Regions from separate parts of the Homo sapiens genome. Here regions 1 and 2 are each linked to region 3. The links are contacts of gene promoters, found by promoter capture Hi-C in human tissues and cell types (Jung and others, 2019). All regions are on one chromosome and are shown on one strand. Each heading gives the region's core, a stretch centred on a gene start or on the middle of the fragment in contact. The rest is flanking DNA. Distances are from core to core; before and after follow the strand shown.

What was found. Contacts are between HindIII fragments. The study calls those that stand out against the background at their distance.
Region 1: a contact is called between a fragment that was not itself captured here and the fragment with the promoter of CIAPIN1 in region 3, in 3 of the 25 tissues and cell types used here (adrenal gland, liver and lymphoblastoid cells).
Region 2: a fragment that was not itself captured here is called in contact with the fragment with the promoter of CIAPIN1 in region 3 in 1 of the 25 tissues and cell types used here (liver).

What each region holds. Positions count from the first base shown.
Region 1 is chr16:57,224,274-57,228,479 of GRCh38, reverse strand. RSPRY1 (ring finger and SPRY domain containing 1) reads right to left here. Exons shown (of 15, transcript NM_133368.3): 11 at 1,027-1,138. Among named protein-coding and RNA genes, the nearest start is that of ARL2BP, 19 kb to the left of the region's middle. The HindIII fragment of the contact is 5,127 bases long and covers 268-4,206 here.
Region 2 is chr16:57,200,901-57,204,743 of GRCh38, reverse strand. It overlaps RSPRY1 (ring finger and SPRY domain containing 1), which reads right to left. Exons shown (of 15, transcript NM_133368.3): 2 at 1-240. The coding sequence starts at 85. Among named protein-coding and RNA genes, the nearest start is that of RSPRY1, 16 kb to the right of the region's middle. The HindIII fragment of the contact is 4,812 bases long and covers 1-3,843 here.
Region 3 is chr16:57,444,983-57,448,770 of GRCh38, reverse strand. CIAPIN1 (cytokine induced apoptosis inhibitor 1) reads left to right here and starts at 1,386. Exons shown (of 9, transcript NM_020313.4): 1 at 1,386-1,429. COQ9 (coenzyme Q9) reads right to left here and starts at 1,292. Exons shown (of 9, transcript NM_020312.4): 1 at 1,193-1,292. The coding sequence starts at 1,265. RefSeq lists an enhancer at 1,180-1,474. The HindIII fragment of the contact is 8,205 bases long and covers 1-3,788 here.

The sequences.
Region 1 (4,206 bases), core at 1,582-4,081, 220 kb after region 3:
AAGCTAGTTTTTGAAAACAGGGCCTTTATCATATGCTCCATTAAATGAAGAAGTTTTATGTTCCTTCAAGAACCTGCAAGCCATTAAAATGAGTGTTCCTGTTGGCTTTTCTGATTTTTTTCCCACACCACCAATTTAATCAAGTGGAGCTGTTTCCATATGGGGGTGGGCAAATTCCTGCTTTCCTTTTTTTTTTTTTTTTTTTTTGAGATGGAGTCTCACTCTGTTGCTCAGGCTGGAGTGCAGTGGCGCAACCTCGGCTCATTGCAACCTCTGCCTCCTGGGTTCAACTGATTCTCCTGCCTCAGCCTCCCAAGTAGCCGGGACCGCAGGTGGGTGCCACCACACCTGGTTAATTTTTGTATTTTAGTAGAGATGAGGTTTCACCATGTTGGCCAGGCTGGTCTTGAACTCCTGACTTCAAGCAATCCACCTGCCTCAGCCTAAATTTCTGCTTTCTTAGCATGCCTAAAAATTCAGTTTATATCCATAATGCTGATTGGGGTAGCAAAATGAGAGAGGGATGCTTGGAGAAAGAGTTGGGTTATATCCTCTATCTAGCTCTGATGCTAGGAATCAAATCCTTCCAGAGGTTATATCCTCTACCATATGACCCTACTTCCTTAGAGCGTGGCCACTGGATAGGACCTGTTCCATAGCCATCTTGTCCCTGAAAAATCCTCATTTTAGTGGCATTACAATTCCAGTGTCCCTGATATTGCCATGGCTGCTTTAATTCAAAACAGATCCAAAGAGGAAAATAGAATTCATACTAATCTTGAGTATCATTTTCTGACAAATGTAAAAAATTTATTTTCTGAAATGTTTTTGCTACAGGAAGAACTCCACCAGAGGTAAATTTATCAGAGGAATACCATTTATATCCTTGGCAGTGACACAAAAGTTAATATCCCTTTTCACATTTGATCTTCTCCTAAGACATTTTAAGGCTTAATGTAATAAATGCCTCATAATAACCAGATGTCTTAACCCACTTGATAAATTTATAATGGAGGGAATGAATACCTTCTTTCCAGCATGGGTGTATGTGAGGCTTACTTCTGGCATTGTACCAAATCAGCTGCCGGCAGCCATCATACGCACAGGAGTATTCATCATCCCCAATGCCGTAGCCTTCCTGGAGAGAGACAAGGCCCAGAAGATTAGCAAGTCTGCCTGCTCTGACCTGGGAACAGAGAGTGTGTCTTTTACGACCACTGACCTAATGGCTGGGATTCTAAGCTTTCTGGATGATGAGAGAGCTCATGGTTTTTTGAAAATACTAAAATTATGACTTAGAGGGCTGGTTCCAAGTGAATAGATAATGACTTCACCAACAAATATTTTCCCAGTGCCTCCTTTGTTCAGGCACTTTCACATTTGTTAGTTCATTTAATTCTCACTAACATTATCATGAGGCTGGTGGCATCAGACTCCATTTTAAGAGGAAACAAAGGCTCAAAGAGGTCAACCAGCTTGCCCAAGCATATATTACTTGCCCAAGAAACAGAGCCAGGTTTGAACCTAAATTCTTCTGATTCCAAGATCAGTCAGTACACTTGTATATCAGCACAAGATTGTCAGAGGCATTCAAACCAGAGAGACTCCATCTTGAATAGGGGCAGGGTAAAATGAGGCTTAGACTTGCTGGGCTGCTCAGCTGCATTCCCAAGAGGTTAGGCATTCTTAGTCACAGGATGAGACAGGAGGTCAGCACAAGATACAGGTCACAAAGACCCTGCTGATAAAACAGGATGCAATAAAGAAGCCAGCCAGAAGCTGGCCAAAACCCACCAAAACCAAGATGGCAACAAAAGTGACCTCTGGTCATCTTCACTGTTCATTATATGCTAATTATAATGCATTAGCATGCTAAAAGACACTCTAACAGGTGCCATGACACTTTACAATGTCATGGCAGTTTGGAAGTTACCCTATATAGTCTAAAAAGGAGAGGAACCCTTGGTTCCAGGAATTGCCTGTCCCTTTCCCAGAAAACTCATGAATAATCCATCCCTGTTTAGCATATAATCGAGAAATAACTAAGTATACTCAGTTGAGCAGCCCACGCCACTGCTCTGCCTATAGAGTAGCCATTCTTCTGTTTCTTTAATAAACTTGTGAAAACACTTTATTCTATGGATTCGCCCCAAATTCTTTCTTGCGCGAGGTCCAAAAACCCTCTCTTGGGATCTGGATCCAGACCCTTTCCAGTAACAAGATCAGATCAGGCAAATACCTTTCTTGCATGTAGCAGACTTCAAAATACCCAAATATTCAGAGATTTCAAAACTGGAGATAAGAGAAAGGTTATAGTGGACACTCAGCTAAAAGCTATTCTGAAATCAGCTTGATTTGAGGATTGTACAGGTCCTTGGCAGTTTCTTCTTTTTTTTTCTTTGAGATGGAGTTTCACTCTTGTTGCCTAGGCTGGAGTGCAATGGCGCGATCTTGGCTCACCACAACCTCTGCCTCCCGGGTTTAAGCGATTCTCCTGCCTCAGCCTCCTGAGTAGCTGGGATTATAGGCATGCGCCACCAGGCCCAGCTAATTTTGTATTTTTAGTAGGGACGGGGTTTCTCCATGTTGGTCAGGCTGGTCTCGAACTCTAGACCTCAGGTGATCTGCCCGCCTCGGCCTCCCAAAGTGCTGGGATTACAGGCGTGAGCCACCGCGCCTGGCAGTTTCTTCTTTTTGTTACTTACTGCCTTTCAATTATTTCACAGAACTGTTAAAATAAAAGGGTGGCTGAGATCTTAAGAAATTATTTTGAGTGCTTATAAAAAATAGAAGCAGCATGCAAATCAGACAACTGCTATCTTTAAGGAACAATGGTGAAAAGTTTTACTAGAGAAAGAAATTGAAAATGGCCAAATCCAAGTAAGATCAGGTCCTGATGGCCTGCTTCTTCTATGGGGCAAACAATACAGTGAGGAGAGAGATTGGAAAAAAAGTTCTGATGAATGCAACAATGATTTTGTACTGGATTTTTGGATTACAACATACTGAATTTGGAGGAACGCTCTCCAAAGTGACTCTTCTGAAATAGCTATTGATATTCACTATTCAGACTACTCAAGAGTTAAATGAGCTTGCATCTAATTGCCTTAGAAATTCACCACCCAAGGCTGCCAAGAGCAGTGGCTCATGCCTGTAATTTCAGCACTTTGGGGGGCAGATCACTTGAGGCCAGGCATTTGAGACCAGCCTGGCCAACATGGCGAAACCCTGTCTCTACTAAAAATACAAAAATTATCCAGGTGTGGTGGCGCACACCTATAATCCCAGTTACTCTGGTGGCTGAGGCACAAGAATCGCCTGAACCTGGGAGGCAGAGGTTGCAGTGAGCAGAGATCACGTGCCACTGCACCCTGGCCTGGGTGACAGAGCGAGACTGTCTCAAAACAAAACAAAACAAAAGAAATTCACTACTTGCTAGAAAGAATGCCTTGCCACACCTTTCAAACGCTGAACAAGTCAGTAAGTAAAAAACTTAAAAACCACTAAAATGTAGGCATTGTGGCATAAGTAAAAGGCAAGCAATTCTTTTCTATCTTCACCTTCTAATGTCCTGAGAAGTCCTTGACAGAACACTTGAAAGAAATTCCTAGAAGCTAGCCACCATGAGTTGGTAAAGAGCAGACTCATTACACATTCTTTACCATGCAATGTCTTTGATGACTGGATAAGTTCCACAACAGAGTGGCACTGTAGCACAAAGAAGGAACTCTAATAACTTTAACTACAGAGCAGCATCTACAGATTTAAGGAGAAGATGCCTCTGCCTAGCAGAGATGCACTTTAAAAATCTCTTAAGCTTACATCTCAGAGAACAACCTAGATGTCCTACACCCTCTCTCAGCTCAAAATGTTCCCAGCAGGATTAATTTTGGTTTCCATTGGCTAGGACAGATAAATGAGAGAATAGAGTGGTTAGCTTGGTATTTATCTTGAACTACCTGTTTTTTGGTCATGCATATTTTAGCAATGGAAACATTACCAAATACAAACAAAAGAAAGTTTATCCACAGCTTGTCATTCAGGGAATAGTTTGAGTCTCTTTCCCACGTGGTGGACACTCTCCTTTTTCCTGCTGTAGGGCATCCCAACCGTTTCCTGTTAAGGGAAATGTATGAAGACAGTGTTCTGCCTCCTCCTTTGGAAGTGGAAAGGTAAGATATGACCTAGGCTTGGCCAGCTGGACCT
Region 2 (3,843 bases), core at 299-2,798, 240 kb after region 3:
GGGCTATGTGCTCTTCGAGAGTCAACAACAGACCCTGGCCAAGGCTTCTGCTCGCTAAGAACACGGCCCAACCAAAGACGATCATTTAGGTAGTTTTCAGTTTTCCAAGTACTGTTTTCATAACCTGGAGTTGAGGAATTTGCATCCTATTTGTTTTTAACAACTGAATGCCAAAGAAAGTTGCAGAGCTTATTCCCAACATTATCAACTACAGGGGATTCTGGACATCCAATGGCAGTTCTAAAAGAAAATGAGAAAAAGGAAAATGAATAAAAGATTCTTGACCACTTAATTACTCAAATTTTCCTAGTCTGATTTTATAGATATTAGGATTCTAATGAAGAATTATCTTTGGTTATTTTTATAGGTTTCCAATACAAAGAGATAGCTTTGGATAACAGAATTCGCAATCAATCAATAATTTCTTTTTATCATTCTGTTACAAAGTTGATTGCCAAACCATATTCTTATAGACCAGAGGAGTTATCATTGATTTTTTTAAAACCACATGTATAGTTTTTCCTGTCTATATAGAAATACATTAGAAGGATGTGTGCATTTTTTTTCAAGGGCTCCTTTTATCATAAAAAAAGAGTTGTCTTTCTGTGTAAGAGGTAGGTGTTAAAAAGAGAAAAATCTTTAAAAAAATGAATTAACTCCTTTCTTTAAACCCATAGGATAATTTAACAAGTTTTAAATAAAATAATTACAGACGTTTGTTGTTAAAAAAAAGTTATGATACAAATATGATAGCACCATTTGATATCAAGGAGAATAAAAGGATAGAGTTTCCCATTGGAAGCTCACTCAAGAACTGACAGAATTCATACAAGTTGTTGCAAAGTGTTTCTGTTATGTAAGCAAGGCTTTGTTTTGGGAAAGGAAAACTGATATCACAAAAGTTGTATTTTCACAATGATCAGTTTGTTGCACATGTCTATTACAAAGTTCAGAATAAGATGCACCAATTTATCTTTGCCTGAAAATACTGACTAAGGACCTTGTGCCAGGTACCACGCTGGACTAGGAGAATAAAGATGAGTAAGGAATAGTTCCTGCCCTCCAGGAATTCATGGATGGCCATTCTCATCCCACAAAGTATGTTTATCATTAAAAACCTAATGAAAGAACCAGCTCTTCAAGAAGCTGGTAAAATCTGGTTAGATTCTGGAAGGAAGTAAAGATTTAGAAATAGGAGACTTACATGGGCTGGTAGCAAAAAGTAAAAAAACAAACAAACAAACAAAACAGGCTGACAGCTGGAGAACAGGCCACATAAGGAATAGACTATGCTAGTGTGTAGTCTCTACACAACATCTGGCTAGTTACAATTAATTCCTCATACCTTGAGCACTGACCAGGAATAATATAAACAAAATTTATAATTCAGTGGAATTAGAAGAGAAATATTACTCCCATTATTTTATTTGTTTATTTATTTACTTATTTTTGAGGAGTCTCGCTCTATCACCCAGGCTGGAGTGCAGTGGTATGATCTTAGCTCACTGCAACCTCCACCTCCTGGGTTCAAGCAATTCTCCTACCTCAGCCTCTCGAGTAACTGGGACTACAGGTGCTGCCACCACACCCAGCCAGTTTTTATATTTTTAGTAGAGACGGGGTTTCACCATGTTGGCCACAAACTCCTGACCTCAGGCTATCTGCCCACCTCGGCCTCCCAAAGTGCTGGGATTACAGGTGTGAGCCACTGTGCCCAGCCTATTTCCATTATTTTAGACAGATTCATGGCAAAATTCTTTTTATTTTCCCAGTTTGATTACTGCTACAGGGAAAACATAGAAGAAAAAGAGAAAAATGGAGACAGAAAGTCTTCAGATATATATATATATATATATATATATATAATCATATGTAATAAAATATATATAAAGAGGGAGGAGGCAAAGGGAAGGGAGAGAAAAGAATGGAATGGGATGGAACAAGACAGGAGAAAGAAAAGGATAAAGGAAATGAGAGGCAACAGACGTTTTCACTATTAAGACAGCAATGGCTGGGCCAAGTGATACCACAGATGTTCTTGGTTCCCCCAAACCACTCGGGCTGTCTTCAAAATTTGGAGGTTGTACTGAAAAGGATGTGACTGAAGTATATAGGTAGGAGTATGATGCAAGGACCAGCTGGAAATAGCTTTTTAAAAGAACACATTCTAAACCAGCAGAGTCGAAGTAACAACATTGCCATTACTGTGGGGATCAGAGTATGATTCGCTTTAGAGGGTAGATAACTAAGAGATTTCAATGCTTAAGAGAATAGAGGAAACAGAAATCAGAAATAGGAATAATTCTTTAAAGGGTCCCTGAAATGAATTTCTACAGATCTTATAAATTATGCTGGTTTCTGAGAAAGATGAAAAAGCAACATTTAAGAAGCTATGCTCTGGGTCCTCTCACAGAAATTTCACTGATAGAGAACAAGAGGCTTGCCGCCATCTTGGAAGTGGCCTGCCACCATCTTGGGAGTTCTAAGAACAAGGACCCCCGCCACCCACCCCCCGTAACAATTGCACTTACTTTATTTGGTGTTCATAGTTTCCCTCTGAGACAAGATTTTTTATTTTTTATTTTTTTAGAGATGGGGTCTTGCTATGTTCCCCAGACTGGTTTTGAACTCCTAGCCTCAAATAATCCTCTCATCTTGGCCTCCCAAGTATTGGGATTACGGGTGTGAGCTATCCTGCTCGGCCCCTCTGAGATAAGCTTTAATATTCCTATTTCAAAATGAGTAAACTGCTCCTCTCCCTCTCCCTCCTCTCCCTCTCCCTCTCTCTCTCTTTCCACGGTCTCCCCCTGATGCCAAGCCAAAGCTGGACTGTACTGCTGCCATCTCGGCTCACTGCAAACTCCCTGCCTGATTCTCCTGCCTCAGCCTGCCGAGTGCCTGCGATTGCAGGCGCGCACCGCCACGCCTGACTGGTTTTCGTATTTTTTTGGTGGAGACGGGGTTTCGCTGTGTTGGCCGGGCTGGTCTCCAGCTCCTAACCGCGAGTGATCCGCCAGCCTTGGCCTCCCGAGGTGCCGGGATGGCAGACGGAGTCGCGTTCACTCAGTGCTCAATGGTGCCCAGGCTGGAGTGCAGTGGCGTGATCTCGGCTCGATACAACCTCCACCTCCCCAGCTGCCTGCCTTGGCCCCCCAAAGTGCCGAGATTGCAGCCTCTGCCCGGCCGCCACCCCGTCTGGGAAGTGAGGAGTGTCTCTGCCTGGCCGCCCATCGTCTGGGATGTGAGGAGCCTCTCTGCCTGGCTGCCCAGTCTGGAAAGTGAGGAGCGTCTCTGCCCGGCCGCCATCCCATCTAGGAAGTGAGGAGCGTCTCTGCCAGGCCGCCCATCGTCTGAGATGTGGGGAGTGCCTCTGCCCTGCCGCCCCGTCTGGGATGTGAGGAGCGTCTCTGCCCGGCCGCCCCGTCTGAGAAGTGAGGAGACCCTCTGCCTGGCAACCGCCCCGTCTGAGAAGTGAGGAGCCCCTCCACCTGGCAGCCACACCGTCTGAGAAGTGAGGAGCCCCTCCGCCCGGCAGCCACACCGTCTGAGAAGTGAGGAGCCCCTCCACCTGGCAGCCACACCGTCTGAGAAGTGAGGAGCCCCTCCGCCCGGCAGCCACTCCGCCTGGGAAGTGAGGAGCGTCTCCGCCCGGCAGCCACCCCGTCTGGGAGGGAGGTGGGGGTCAGCCCCCCGCCCGGCCAGCCGCCCATCCGGGAGGGAGGTGGGGGGGTCAGCCCCCCGCCCGGCCAGCCGCCCGTCCGGGAGGGAGGTGGGGGGGTCAGCCCCCCCCCCCCCCGGCCAGCCGCCCCGTCTGGGAGGTGAGGGGCGCCTCTGCCTGGCCGC
Region 3 (3,788 bases), core at 137-2,636:
TAGACATTACTTTTACTACACATCTTTAGTTTGGAATTTTGTATAAATACAACAAAAGGGGGCTAGGCGGTGGCTCATACCTGTAATCCCAACACTTTGGGAGGCTGAGGCAGGCAGATAACTTGAGGTCAGGAGTTTTGGACTAGCCTGGCCAACATGGTGAAACCCCGTCTACTAAAAATAAAAAATTAGCTGGGCATGGTGGCACAACCCCAGCTACTAGGAAGGCTGAGGCAGGAGAATCACTTGAACCCAGGAGGTAGAGGCTGCAGTGAGCCGAGATTGTACCACTGCACTCCAGCCTGGGTGACAGAGTGAGACTCTGTCTCAACAACAAAATTAAGCCAAGTAGGGTGGCACGCACTTGTAGTCCCAGCTCCTTGGGAGGCTGAGGAGCCAGACCCTGTCTCAGAAAAAAAAAAAAAAGAAAAAAAAGAAACAGAATAGTATGTGCCAAAATATCAATATTTTAATACATGTACTGAAAGATACGGCACAAATATCCGCAAAACTTTGAAAAGGAAGGAGCAGATGCAAAGTATGACTGTAGTACCACTGAGGGTCATGAGAAGATTTTAGGTGAAATACAGGTGAACGTTTCATCAGTTATGTATGTATGCTAAAGTGTTAATGCATACGTTCTAATTAAGGAAGGCGATATTAGTTTTCCATTTATGACAATGATATAAAGTTTCCTCTTTAAGAACTCCTATTTAAAAATAAAAATACTGAGTACATAGTGGCAAAGGTGGTAAGAGAGTATCACAGAATTCGTGAAGTGGTGAGGAAACGGCTGGCTTTCGGGAAACAATGGACTAGGCTCTCTGTGGCCGTGTCCACCTGTCCTTCCAGTGGACTTGGCAATGGACTTGAGAATGGGTCTGCGACTGCCAGTTCTGTAACCAACAGGCTCAGGCTGCGTGACTTTCGTACCCCGAGCCCTCTCTGAGGCTCTGCCAACTCCATGAAATGGGGGTGACAGGCCCTGCCCCGCTGCATCTGCCCCTCACAGACAGCGGAGCAGGGCCGAAGCTAGCCAGGCGGCTCGCCCGAGCCCGCGCCGATGCCCTTCACCTCACCTTGCTCGTGGGCCGCCCCAACGGCCTCTTCCCCCCACCGTCGAACCCAGCTGAAGCCGGCCTCGCGCCCCCTCCGCGCTCCCCGCCTCTCCCCGGCTTGGCAGCCCCCTCACCGGGCAGGCATCGCAGCTGCAGGAGCCTCCAGCCCGCCCGGCCAAGCGCACCAGATACCGCCGCCGCCGCCATTTTGGAAGCGGGCACGTCGCCCACGGCGACGCGACCGGTAGCTACGGGACCACGGCCCTAAGGAGGGCGGAAGTCGTCGCTCCGTGGAGCCTCCTCCTCTCGCGAGAGGCGCAAGGCGTGGAGTCGACGGCTGGAGAGAAGCCGGGAGCGAGCCCAGGCGGCAGGTGAGAGTGGTGGGGGCCAGCTGAGCGCCAGAGCTCCCTCAACTGTCCCCTCCCGGCCCACCCTCGTTCCCACATCCTCTCATTTTCTCTTCCCACCCCGTTCCTCGATGGGAACGCAGCCACGGCCGCCCCGCTGAAAGCCCCGGCTGGTTTATTCCTGAGAAGTCGGTGTGAGGGGCCAGGGCCGGCCCTAACCTCCCTGGGGTCCTGACTGGGAATTTCTGCCGTTCCCCGGCTGCCTCGTCCCTTGCGCAGCCGGCCCTACTCTGAGGCCCCGGGGACACCACGCTGAGGAGAAACGGCTCCGAGCTTGGGATCGGGGAGACCTGGTTCTGAGACCCGGTCCTACCAGTAGCCAATCGTTGTGACCTTGGGCCTCAGTCCCCGTGACGTTTTGGTCCCTGGGGGTTCCTGGCAGCAAAGCACGAAAGCCTTGGAGTCGGGGGGTACCTGAGCTCACGATTGTAATTTCGAACCTGCAACTTGTCCGAACCCCCAGCGTGTTGAGTTGATATAATTAAGTATCCAGATCGGAAGGATGCTTGTTACTAGAACAGACAGCTAGGCCTTTGTCCAGAAGGATTGATTGAGTGGGTCTGGGTGTGGTCCAGGAATCTCATTTTAACCACTCCCTCGGGTGATTTGTAGGATCTGCAAGTTCGGGAAAGGCTGGTGCCCTTCATTCTGACATTACTGAGTGCCAAGCTCTGGATGGCTCAAGGAGGTCACGGTCTAGCCACTAACAGAGCACTTCACGGGGGTGTCATCAGAGAAGGCTTAGTAGGAAGAAGTAAACGGTTTTTGGGCTAAGAGTAACTGACGACAAGAGCATGTGATTCTGTCGATTTTGTGTTTGCAGTCAGACCCCATCATTGTGTCTGTTAAAGTTGTGCTTTGCACACCCCTTGTCAAATCTAGTCTTTTCAGAATATCCGGCTCCCCCCTGCACGGGTGCGGGGAAGACCTCCTAAGCCAAAACTTACCCCAAAGGTTAAAATTTTAGATCCATATTTCTGGTTTTAGGTAAAACACTCCTCTCCATAAGGATTTGTTTCTGAGTTCTATCCATCCATCTTTGAATGAGCCTTTCCTGTGGAAACTAACATTTGGGTATCCTTTCTGAAACCCTAATTCCTGACACACGCCAAATGCCTGGAGACGTTCCTGTTTCATTGTTGATTCTCACTTTTTAAAAAAAATTCTGGGCCAGGCTCATGCCTGTAATCCCAGCACTTTGGGAGGCTGCGGCGTGTGGATCACTTGAGCTCAGGAGTTCGAGACCAGCCTGGGCAACATGGCGAAACCGCATCTCTACAAAGAATACAAAAATTAGCTGGGTGTGGTGGTGGGTGCCTGTAATCCCAGCTATTTGGGAGGCTGAGGCGGGAGAATCGCTTGAACCCCGGAGTCGGAGGTTGCAGTGAGCCAAGATTGTGCCATTGCACTCCAGCCTGGGCAACAGAGCAAGACTCTGCCAAAAAAAAAAAAAAAAAAAAAAAAAAAAAAACCTCTAAGGTCTTAGTCTAAGTGTCTAGACAGAGCGTTCTCTTGAGGGCAGGGAACAAGTGTCTTCTTGTCTGTCTCCCGTGTAGGGACAGGCACATAGTAGGTTTCTTAGGTCTCATTTGCAGGTTGTAATTGTGCCTTCCTACCATTCTGCTAAAGCTGGCAGGGAAACTGAGGCCCAGAGAGGGGCAATGGCTGACTTGGATTGCACAGCAGGCTGGTTAGGCCCACTTGGTACTGGTCACCCAGAGGCCAGGCAGTGACATGTATGTGCACAAGAGCTTCAGTTAGTTAATTTTATGTTTTTAATTTAATTTTTTTTTATTTTGAGATGGAGTCTCACTCTGTCTCCCTGGCTGGAGTGCAGTGGCAAGATCTTGGTCCACTACAACGTCCGCCTCCTGAGTTCAAGCAATTCTGCCTACCTCAGTCTACCAAGTAGCTGGGATTACAGGTGCACGCCACCATGCCCAGCTAATCTTTGTATTTTTAGTAGAGACGGGTTTTCTCCATGTTGGCCAGGCTGGTCTTGAACTCCTGACCTCAGGTGATCCACTTGCTTCAGCCTCCCAAAGTGTGGGATTACAGGTGTGAGTCACTGCACCCAGCCCAGTTAGTTAATTTTAATTAGGATTTTCCTTTCTGATAACTGTCAGTATTCTTGGAACTCTTTTATGCACCCGAGTTAAAGAATTTTTTGAACTGAAGCCCAAACTTCAGTGTTATTTTTTGCTTTTGTCCCCTTTCACCAGAAGAGAGACCAAATGCCTCAAGATTTGATGCTTACTGGGCACCTAAAAAACAGTCTGTTCTCAGACATCCGCTTTTACTGCCTGCCAGTAACATTTTAGAA